Regions from separate parts of the Homo sapiens genome. Here region 2 is linked to region 1. Evidence: promoter capture Hi-C in human tissues and cell types (Jung and others, 2019). All regions are on one chromosome and are shown on one strand. The core of a region is centred on a gene start or on the middle of the fragment in contact, and the rest is flanking DNA. Distances in the headings are between cores, read along the strand shown. Region 1 holds the start of GPR151 (G protein-coupled receptor 151). Region 2 has its middle 99 kb from the start of PPP2R2B-IT1.

Region 1 (4,828 bases), core at 339-2,838:
AAACAAAGGAACCCAGCACCACTGACCACTGTCCCAATAGCTATACTGATCACTACTTATTTATTTTCTAGGACACTGAAGAATTTTAAAACGTCAGACCCTTCTTTACTTGCGAAAAACGTGAAAGCACAGTACCAGAATCCAGAGATCTGAATGCAGCAGCATACTCTCCTGTATATCATGCTTTAGCTTTTCTGACTAGCCACACTCAATGTAGCATGTATCTTCATATCAACCCCACAAACCCCATTCTCTGAACATTTTGAGCTCCTCTAATCCCCCCAGAGTATCCATTGCTTATTTTAAAATTTCAGGGCTAGTTCTACCAAATCATCTTATCTGAGAATTTTTTTATTTCTAGAGACAGAGGATCACTCTGTCACTCAGGTTGGAGTGCAGCAGCACAGTCATAGCTCACTGCAACCTCGAACTCCTGGGCTTAAGCAACCCTCTCACCTCAGTCTCTTAAGTAGCTAGGACTACAGGTGTACACCATCATGGCTGACTTTTTTTTTTTTCTTTTTTTTTTTTTTCTTGTTTGTTTGGTAGAGGTGGGGGCAGGGGTCTCACTTTGTTGCCCAGGCTGGTCTCGAACTTCTGGCCTTAAGCAATCCTCCCGCCTCCACCTCCCCAAATTCTGGGATTACAGGCATGAGCCAGTGTGCCCAGCACAAAATCTTTACCAACTTTAAAATATAATTTAAAAAAATCTCTTAAATGCCTTCCACATAGATATTGATTTTTCTTTCATTTCTCTTGTCTTGGTAAATCCTCTAGGAATGCTCTCTGAAAAGCAGCTTAATTCATCATGCAGTTGCCTTCATCACCATCACTTGTTGAAAAGTCTTATTAGTATGTAAAGCAGTTCTAATTTGGAGCTGTAAAATTGCTTCTAAAAACTCGTAATAGAATAAACTGAGAGTCATCCATAATTAGATTTTTTTAATAGGACTTCTAACTTGTTTTCATTATCCAGCTGTGTTTGAACTCAGCCAGCTGTTGATGGAACTGAGGTGGTTGTAAGGGTTGGGGAAAAGAAGAGGAAGCTCATCTCTGCAGAGTGGGTAGGGGAAGCTTTAGTTCTCAGTTTAAAACAGTGGTTCTCAAAGTGTGGTCTCCCAACCTGCAGCATCAGAGTCTCATGGGAACTTGTTAGAAATGATTTCTTGGGCCCTACTCCAGACCCACTGGATCCGGCCATCAGGTGAAGTTCAAAGAACTTGGTTCAGATGTAGTGTTCACTAAATTACAGACAGCAGTCAAGATTTTAGGAAGAGCTGGTTGAAAATAATTGCCTTGACTGGCTCTAGTGACCCCCCAAGGAACACATGCCACTTACATGTATGTTCTCTTCATTCATCATTTATGGGTATATTTGTATTACTCCACAGGGCTGACGATTTGGTATTAGACTTGCTAATGAGCAGCAGCCATGTGCTCCTGCTATCTGACAGTCGGTACAGTCACAAGTATATTGTATGCAGCAGAGAAGAGCTTAACAGCCAGCCTCCTTCCACATTCTGCTCTCAGGAAATAAGCAAGGGGAGGATCCAGAAGTGTCATTTGACACTGACGACAGAGTACTTATTTCCTATGCAAAAGAGCCCAGGCAGAAAGACAAACCTAAATAAGAATCTAACTTCTGTAAGAAGCTGTGAAGAGTGATGCTGGCAGCTGCCTTTGCAGACTCTAACTCCAGCAGCATGAATGTGTCCTTTGCTCACCTCCACTTTGCCGGAGGGTACCTGCCCTCTGATTCCCAGGACTGGAGAACCATCATCCCGGCTCTCTTGGTGGCTGTCTGCCTGGTGGGCTTCGTGGGAAACCTGTGTGTGATTGGCATCCTCCTTCACAATGCTTGGAAAGGAAAGCCATCCATGATCCACTCCCTGATTCTGAATCTCAGCCTGGCTGATCTCTCCCTCCTGCTGTTTTCTGCACCTATCCGAGCTACGGCGTACTCCAAAAGTGTTTGGGATCTAGGCTGGTTTGTCTGCAAGTCCTCTGACTGGTTTATCCACACATGCATGGCAGCCAAGAGCCTGACAATCGTTGTGGTGGCCAAAGTATGCTTCATGTATGCAAGTGACCCAGCCAAGCAAGTGAGTATCCACAACTACACCATCTGGTCAGTGCTGGTGGCCATCTGGACTGTGGCTAGCCTGTTACCCCTGCCGGAATGGTTCTTTAGCACCATCAGGCATCATGAAGGTGTGGAAATGTGCCTCGTGGATGTACCAGCTGTGGCTGAAGAGTTTATGTCGATGTTTGGTAAGCTCTACCCACTCCTGGCATTTGGCCTTCCATTATTTTTTGCCAGCTTTTATTTCTGGAGAGCTTATGACCAATGTAAAAAACGAGGAACTAAGACTCAAAATCTTAGAAACCAGATACGCTCAAAGCAAGTCACAGTGATGCTGCTGAGCATTGCCATCATCTCTGCTCTCTTGTGGCTCCCCGAATGGGTAGCTTGGCTGTGGGTATGGCATCTGAAGGCTGCAGGCCCGGCCCCACCACAAGGTTTCATAGCCCTGTCTCAAGTCTTGATGTTTTCCATCTCTTCAGCAAATCCTCTCATTTTTCTTGTGATGTCGGAAGAGTTCAGGGAAGGCTTGAAAGGTGTATGGAAATGGATGATAACCAAAAAACCTCCAACTGTCTCAGAGTCTCAGGAAACACCAGCTGGCAACTCAGAGGGTCTTCCTGACAAGGTTCCATCTCCAGAATCCCCAGCATCCATACCAGAAAAAGAGAAACCCAGCTCTCCCTCCTCTGGCAAAGGGAAAACTGAGAAGGCAGAGATTCCCATCCTTCCTGACGTAGAGCAGTTTTGGCATGAGAGGGACACAGTCCCTTCTGTACAGGACAATGACCCTATCCCCTGGGAACATGAAGATCAAGAGACAGGGGAAGGTGTTAAATAGATTTAAGTTTCAAAGCAAAACAAACTGTGATTATTGTATTTACTTGTACTGCTGCTTATCAATATTGCTGACTTTACAAACTGATATAATTATTACCATTAGGAATTATAAAAATATTTCACAATCTACACTTTCCAAATGTGCAATGTGGTAAGTAGAGAACCATGTTAGAAGTAATAATTGTTTCAGAATTAGAACTTGGCTTCCCAAACAATTTAAGTGTTGTGTAAAGATGTTGCTGTCAAAGTGATTAGACAGCCTGGCTATTCTGTCATTTGTTCACAGTGGTTTTACTGGGTACCCCCTAGGACCAGCCCTGTAGTGGACCGGCTGGAGCCTGCAGTAGAGGTTCTGTCAAAGCTGAGCCCCTTTACCTTCAGTTTCACCCAGGACCTGCTAGTCCTAATTTTACCTACTAAATTGTATTTCACATAACCAAAGCTCAAAATCTACTTTCACTTGAGATTTTTAACACATTAATGATAAATTTTAATGCGTTCTTCATTTACTTAATAAGTGTTAATTTACTTGATGAAAAGTCCGTATCATAATGTTCATGACTGAAGGTCAAAGAAAAAGAAACAGCACCTTATTCCAATTCTGGACTCATTTCAAGCCATGGCTGGTTCTGGCCAAGTTTAAATAAATTCAAACTTAAACTAAAGCCTGCTTCAGTGAACTTTTTAAAGCTACCTGAATGAGTCTTCAGTTTCTAAGTCTAAGAATTGTAGCAGCTTTCCAATGACATTCAGTAGTCTGATATGGGGGAAAAAATACTTAAAAAAATGTCCTCTCTTCACTTCCAAAATGTGGGAAAGTTATTTTTCTATAAGCAGAAATGTGTTCCTCCTAATATCTCCTTTCTCCCAAGATAAACCATGGTTAATGATATAGGTATAGATTACTCCTCAAATACAAATAGAAGATGGAGATGGTGATCTTTCTTGTTAATGGTACTAAACTTACCCTTACTCAGAACATTGAACTTGAACCCTACTCAACTTTTAAAATACTATAGGCTAAGTTATAAAAATAATCTAGCAACCTGAGAAAGAGATTAATATCAAAAAGAGAAAATTCAACAAACCAAGACAGAATTTGGTTAAGAATACAAAATAAAAAGCATAAGGGCAATGCAGAAAGCAGTAAAACTGTGTACCCAGACATACGGTAAAATCTGAGTAACAGGCAATAACCATTCATTTTATAGCAAGGTAAAACATACCCAATAAAACATGATTATGATATATTTCTGCCCCTTTTAAGTATAATGACATTCACCCATGATTCTTGATTACTTTGTTATGGAACTCGGGTATTTTCACTGAAAGTTTCCCTCAGAATAGAAATGCCTTTAGGGCAAACCAAGCCATGGAGAATCTGAAATATAAAGGATATGTTATGGAAAAAAAAAGATTTTGCTTTTTGTCTATGGGTTTCCGGATTCTTTGCTTTTTCATAAGTGGTCATAGTTTGCTTTTTAACACAGGAGGTAGGGCTGTATTCTTTTTACATCCTTCATTACAAATTTTATTTGAAGCTCATGTATTCAAATAAAGTAAAATTTAACCCAAGAATCCAAAATATTGTCTTGTGATATGGTAGTTATAAAAAGGATTATCATTGTCTGTGATTATTTGAATAAATAATTTTTATGTTCATTATATGTAGTAAATTTAGGATGTAAGCTTCCAGGGTTTGACACTTTAAACTTGTAAAGAAATAAAAATAATTACGCTTTACTTCCGATAGTTTTTGGAGATTTAAAGCTGTCTTTGTCTTGAATTATCATTCCAAAATCATTATTAGGAACAATGGAGCTTTATGGGGCTGTTTGACCTTAACACTGGAACAGGTCTCAAGGTGAACTGATTTTCAGAGTTTGCTAACAAGCACCAAATCAA
Region 2 (4,712 bases), core at 2,181-4,680, 500 kb before region 1:
TTTCCTTTTCTAGGTGGTTACAGTTCTGTGTTGTTCATTGTTTGATATTCAAAAATAGGGATGTCTTTCCTACATTTTGTACAACAACAGTTTTCTAGTTGTTTGCAGTGGAAGAGCTAGTCTGGTACCAGTTACCCCACCATGATCAGAAACAAAAGTCAAAAAAGTATTGTTTCAACTCCACTTCTGTTAACATACACTACCAATTCTGTGTGTCAAAGAAGCTCACAAGTTTTTCAGTGACTATAAGAATTAATGACAATATAGCATATAGAATATCATAATAGACCTGGAAAATTTAGTTATACAGTTCTCGAACTAAAATACTTTCCTAAGCCCTTGGTATTCATGGAATTTGCTTGGTTTGATGTGGAAAATGTTTTCATTTTTCAGTTAAGAATATAAATGCCTGAACTTCAAGAATGTGATTAATATTGACTGGGCTCATCAGTACTGTTCTCATTAGAAGTTAAAACAAGTATAGTAATACCAGATTCTTATCATCTGAGCTCTGAGATCCTTGCAGTATTGAATATACCTTCTCTGTCAATCTCTATCAAAACCCTATAAGCAGAAAGATACAGTCAAGCAACTTTTCAAGCACTGTTGATTTATTTTCACTTTTTGTTTTCTTTCTCCACCCCTCCTGGTCTCCTCCTCTTGCTAAAGTCTATTGTGACCACTTTTTTGTTTATCTTCTTTAATGCAACCCCCAAATCTTTTATGATAGTATAGTACTATCACTATTTTTTAATGCATATATTCACTCAATACATATTTATAAATCACATATGAATTTCTAGGTGGTTTTGTAGACCTAGGGATGAAGTCAACATGTTTCCTACCCCAGTGAAAGTCAGTGGTCTGATAGGATGAAAATTATTTATTAAATAATCATATAAATATATCATTACAAAATATGTGGGCTTTAAATAAATGGTACAAGGAACTCTGAGGGTACATTAATGGAGTGTCAGTTTTGATTCTCCAGGATCAAATACCAAGAGGGAATTGAATGTGTCACAGGATTTATTAGAAGGAATGACTATGGAGAAAAAAAGAGAGAGAAAATCTGAGTGGGGAAAGCTATAGAAAGTGATGCAACTCTAACATCTTTATAAGGAGAGGGTGGACGAAGAAAGATTGGGTAGAAAGAGCATCAGAGTTGAATGCAGCTCTGAGAACATCTAGGCCAGGTTAATAGGGAGGCCCAGAGCAAAGACTGCCTTCTAGAGAAATCCTCTGTTGATAAGGAATGGCCAGATCTAGTACCCATGCTATACTCAGTCATCCCTCACAGCATGTTTTCCTTGAAACGAGATCTGAGCGGTGTATTCCCATAGCTCTCATACAGAAGAATCAGATCTAGCCTCGGAGGCTGAGAAAGGCTTCTCTAGGAAATATTTTAAATCATCTTTAAGTGATGGCTTTAACATCTCTTACATGCTACAATGAAAAGAGTAGGTATTCAGGTCACATAGGAGAATATTTCTTAGACTAGTTGTTAAGACAAGAGCCACCTTGCTATATTTTTGGTAGTAGATCCCAGATGCAAAGCACTCTGTGCTTTTAACATATCCTCTTTCAAAGTAATAGATAGACTTTTTAAAAAAAAACAAAACAAAACAAAAAACAAAGTAAAACTATTTGGCCAGCATTAGATCTCACTTCACCAGGTTTTGTAGCTCAATCCTTTCATTCAGGTCATTGTGAAATCTAAAATCTTCCTTTCCTCCCACCTTCATGTTGGTGGTGGATATTGTATACATACATTCCACTCCAAACATATTTTTGGTACTAATAAATTGCAAGGATGATCTTATTAACTTTCTTCTGTTTTGGTTGATAAAACAGTTCCAAGTAACAATTTATTCTGAATCTTTTCTATTTTAATTTGCTTTTCTTGACCTCAGCAGATCACAGTTGTATCTTCAAACAGCTACTGTTTTGAGTAACTTTGTTGAACAGCAGTTATTTAAATATTTATGGTCAATCTGTTCCAAAACAATATTGAAATCAACAGTGCACAGTTTAAGAAATACATAAAAATCAATGGGGCAAATTTATGTACCAGAAGATCTACATTTCTAACTAAGTGCCAGATTTTCCATTTATAATTTTTGCAAATGAAACACTTCGGGTAGTCATAAATACTGACCTCTCTGAACATTCCTTTGTGAATTATGATCTTGCAGTAATAAACAGAGAGCAGTATTTGATTTGTAGGCTGAACTATACAAAGCAAGAACTCAGTGCTAATGCTTTTGATCATTCTAATTCATTTTAACTGGCCAAGAGGGAGTTTTTTAAAATAATAACCACCATCATCTTCTGTTCTGAGTTTGCCTGATGTCTGTCTTTACATGTTTTTACCACAGTAGCTTTACCTAGTGTTGGGTCTGGCACCAGGAGGACATCACTAAATATTTGTTTTAAAAGCTGGTAGTCCAAAGCCAGCATGGAGCACTGCCTAATTCAGTCCATAACCCTTGTTCTCCTGCAAGGGGTCCCATGACAAATGAAACTAACACAACACCAACTCTGTTCCAGTCCTCTCCAGGTCCCAAATAATTTAGTTAACTAAGCTGGGTTTCTCATCGTTACATCAACATTTACTATATTTTCTAGAATCTAGATACATAACATTTCCTATTCAGAAAGGACCTTAGAAATAATAGAATCCAGTGATGACAAATATATTTGATTTTCTAAGCTCAATAAGGAAAAGTGTTTTTAAAAAATATATATAAAAAATGAGATCTTTTAAAGAGAGGTGAAGGCATGAATACTGGATATTGACCCTTCCAAATCGAGTCCAACTATCCCTCCTGACAGATGGCCATCAACCTCATCTTGAATACTTCCAAGACAGGAAAATACTGCCTTTCATGGTGGCTATGTCATGACTGGATGATAGAAAGTTGTTTCCAGTGGAAATCTGTGCTTCTGCAATTTCTACACTTTTATTTAGGTTCTGCCTTTCGAAGTCATACAAAATAAATTTACTCTTTCTATTCCATATAATAGTACTTTATATATTTGACAAGTTTTCTGAGGTCCCCTTTCTTTTTATTAGCTTCCAGCCTCTTAGCATTTTTGACATTCCTATCTATGATGCTTAACGCTTCTAAGTGTGTGTGTGTGTGTGTGTGTGTGTGTGTGTGTGTGCGCGCGCATGCATGTGTGTGTCGTAGACTATAATTCATCTGGGCCTGGAAGATTTCCTACATGCAAAACTACATGGTCCTGTCTTTATCATCTTCTAACTTATCTTGAGCCTTAATTGCTGCTTAAAGACATTGCTTTACCTTTCCAGCTTGAAGATCCTTAATTTTGTTAGGATAGACAAGCAACAGGAATGTTGGAAGCTTTTCTTTCACTGTCATTTGTTTACATGACATCATCTTTTCCAAGTGGCAGGCTTAACCCTGTCTTGTTTTCCTTCTCACTCTAAACCTAATTTACAATGCCTTTTGCCAAAGCTAAGAAACACTTTTTTGCTTGTATCTTACTTTACACTGCAGCTGCATTTGATACCATTGATCAATCCCTCTTTCCTGAAATTTTCTACCCTCTTAGCTTCAACAAATTTATTTTCATTTGATTTTTCTCTTCTCTTTCTCTTTGCATTCCTAATATGCTTCCTCTGTAGGCTCCTCCTCCTCTGCTTTAAATGCTGTGTTCACCAGAATTCTGTTCTCTACGTAAACTTCATCCTTGAGTTAGTTTACACACTCCCATGGTTTGAACCACTCTGTTTTCTAATGATAACAAATGTTATCTCCAGCTCGAATCTCTCCCTCCCCTAAGGTTAAGATGCTAAGCACAGACGTTCCAGTGTGACTGAAACTGAACTGTCATCTCCCTCCCACATGCCCAGCCTGTGTTCTGCTCTTTCTCTTCAAAGATGTCCTATGATTAGCATCACTGTCTGCACAATCATCCAAATAGAAACCCAGGTTCCTCCCTCCAAACCCATTCATAAAGCAATCACCAAATCCTGCTGATTCTATTGCCCACAGTTTTTGACTCCATCGCCTCTTGTATTATCCTACTTCTCTGGCTTGGGCATTCCATTTCTTTAGCTTGGAGTTTTTCAATAGCCCTGATGTGCATTTTTGTTTGTTTGCCTTTATTCTTGTATTCCTCAGATCTAGCCTCCACCCTGCAGCCAGAGCAATCTATCCAAAACTTAAATCTGACCATGTTCTTTCCCATTTAAAATACTTCATGTTTCTCCTTTACCTGCAAAATGGAGCTCTAGAGCATGACATGTAGGATATTCTGTAACTTGGCCAACAACTTTCTCTCCAACTTTGCATTTTCCTACTCCTTGCTCTGGAATAGAAGCTGTGATCATGCCTAAATGCTTATGAAATCCAGCATATATCATGCTATTTTGGATTTCAAGTCTTCTTGCCTTTTATTATGACATGTTTTCTGCCTGGATAGAATGCCCATTCTCTTGCCTTCTTTTGACTAGTTTTCACTCATCTCTAGTAGTTTAGCTCAGCTGCCATCTTCTCTAGAAAATATTTTCCCAACACAGAAGGATTGAATATACTGCCTTTGTGTTCCCATAGCACCCTAGACTTGCTTCTATTTTCCTCACTACATATATTGATTCCACAATGTATCTGTATATGTGACTGTGTCCCCTATGTTTTCTCAGACTTATTTTAGAAAAGCTTAGGTGGATATTTTTTAACTAC

What was found. The method cuts DNA at HindIII sites, captures the fragments that hold promoters and counts their contacts. A contact is called where the count stands out against the background at its distance.
Region 2: a contact is called between a fragment that was not itself captured here and the fragment with the promoter of GPR151 in region 1, in 2 of the 25 tissues and cell types used here (H1 embryonic stem cells and hippocampus).

Annotation. Positions count from the first base shown.
Region 1 is chr5:146,512,950-146,517,777 of GRCh38, reverse strand. It overlaps GPR151 (G protein-coupled receptor 151), which reads left to right and starts at 1,588. Exons shown (of 1, transcript NM_194251.3): 1 at 1,588-4,634. The coding sequence starts at 1,665. The coding sequence ends at 2,924. The HindIII fragment of the contact is 7,544 bases long and covers 1-4,828 here.
Region 2 is chr5:147,016,500-147,021,211 of GRCh38, reverse strand. It overlaps a transcript of PPP2R2B not described here. Among named protein-coding and RNA genes, the nearest start is that of PPP2R2B-IT1, 99 kb to the right of the region's middle. The HindIII fragment of the contact is 7,167 bases long and covers 1-4,712 here.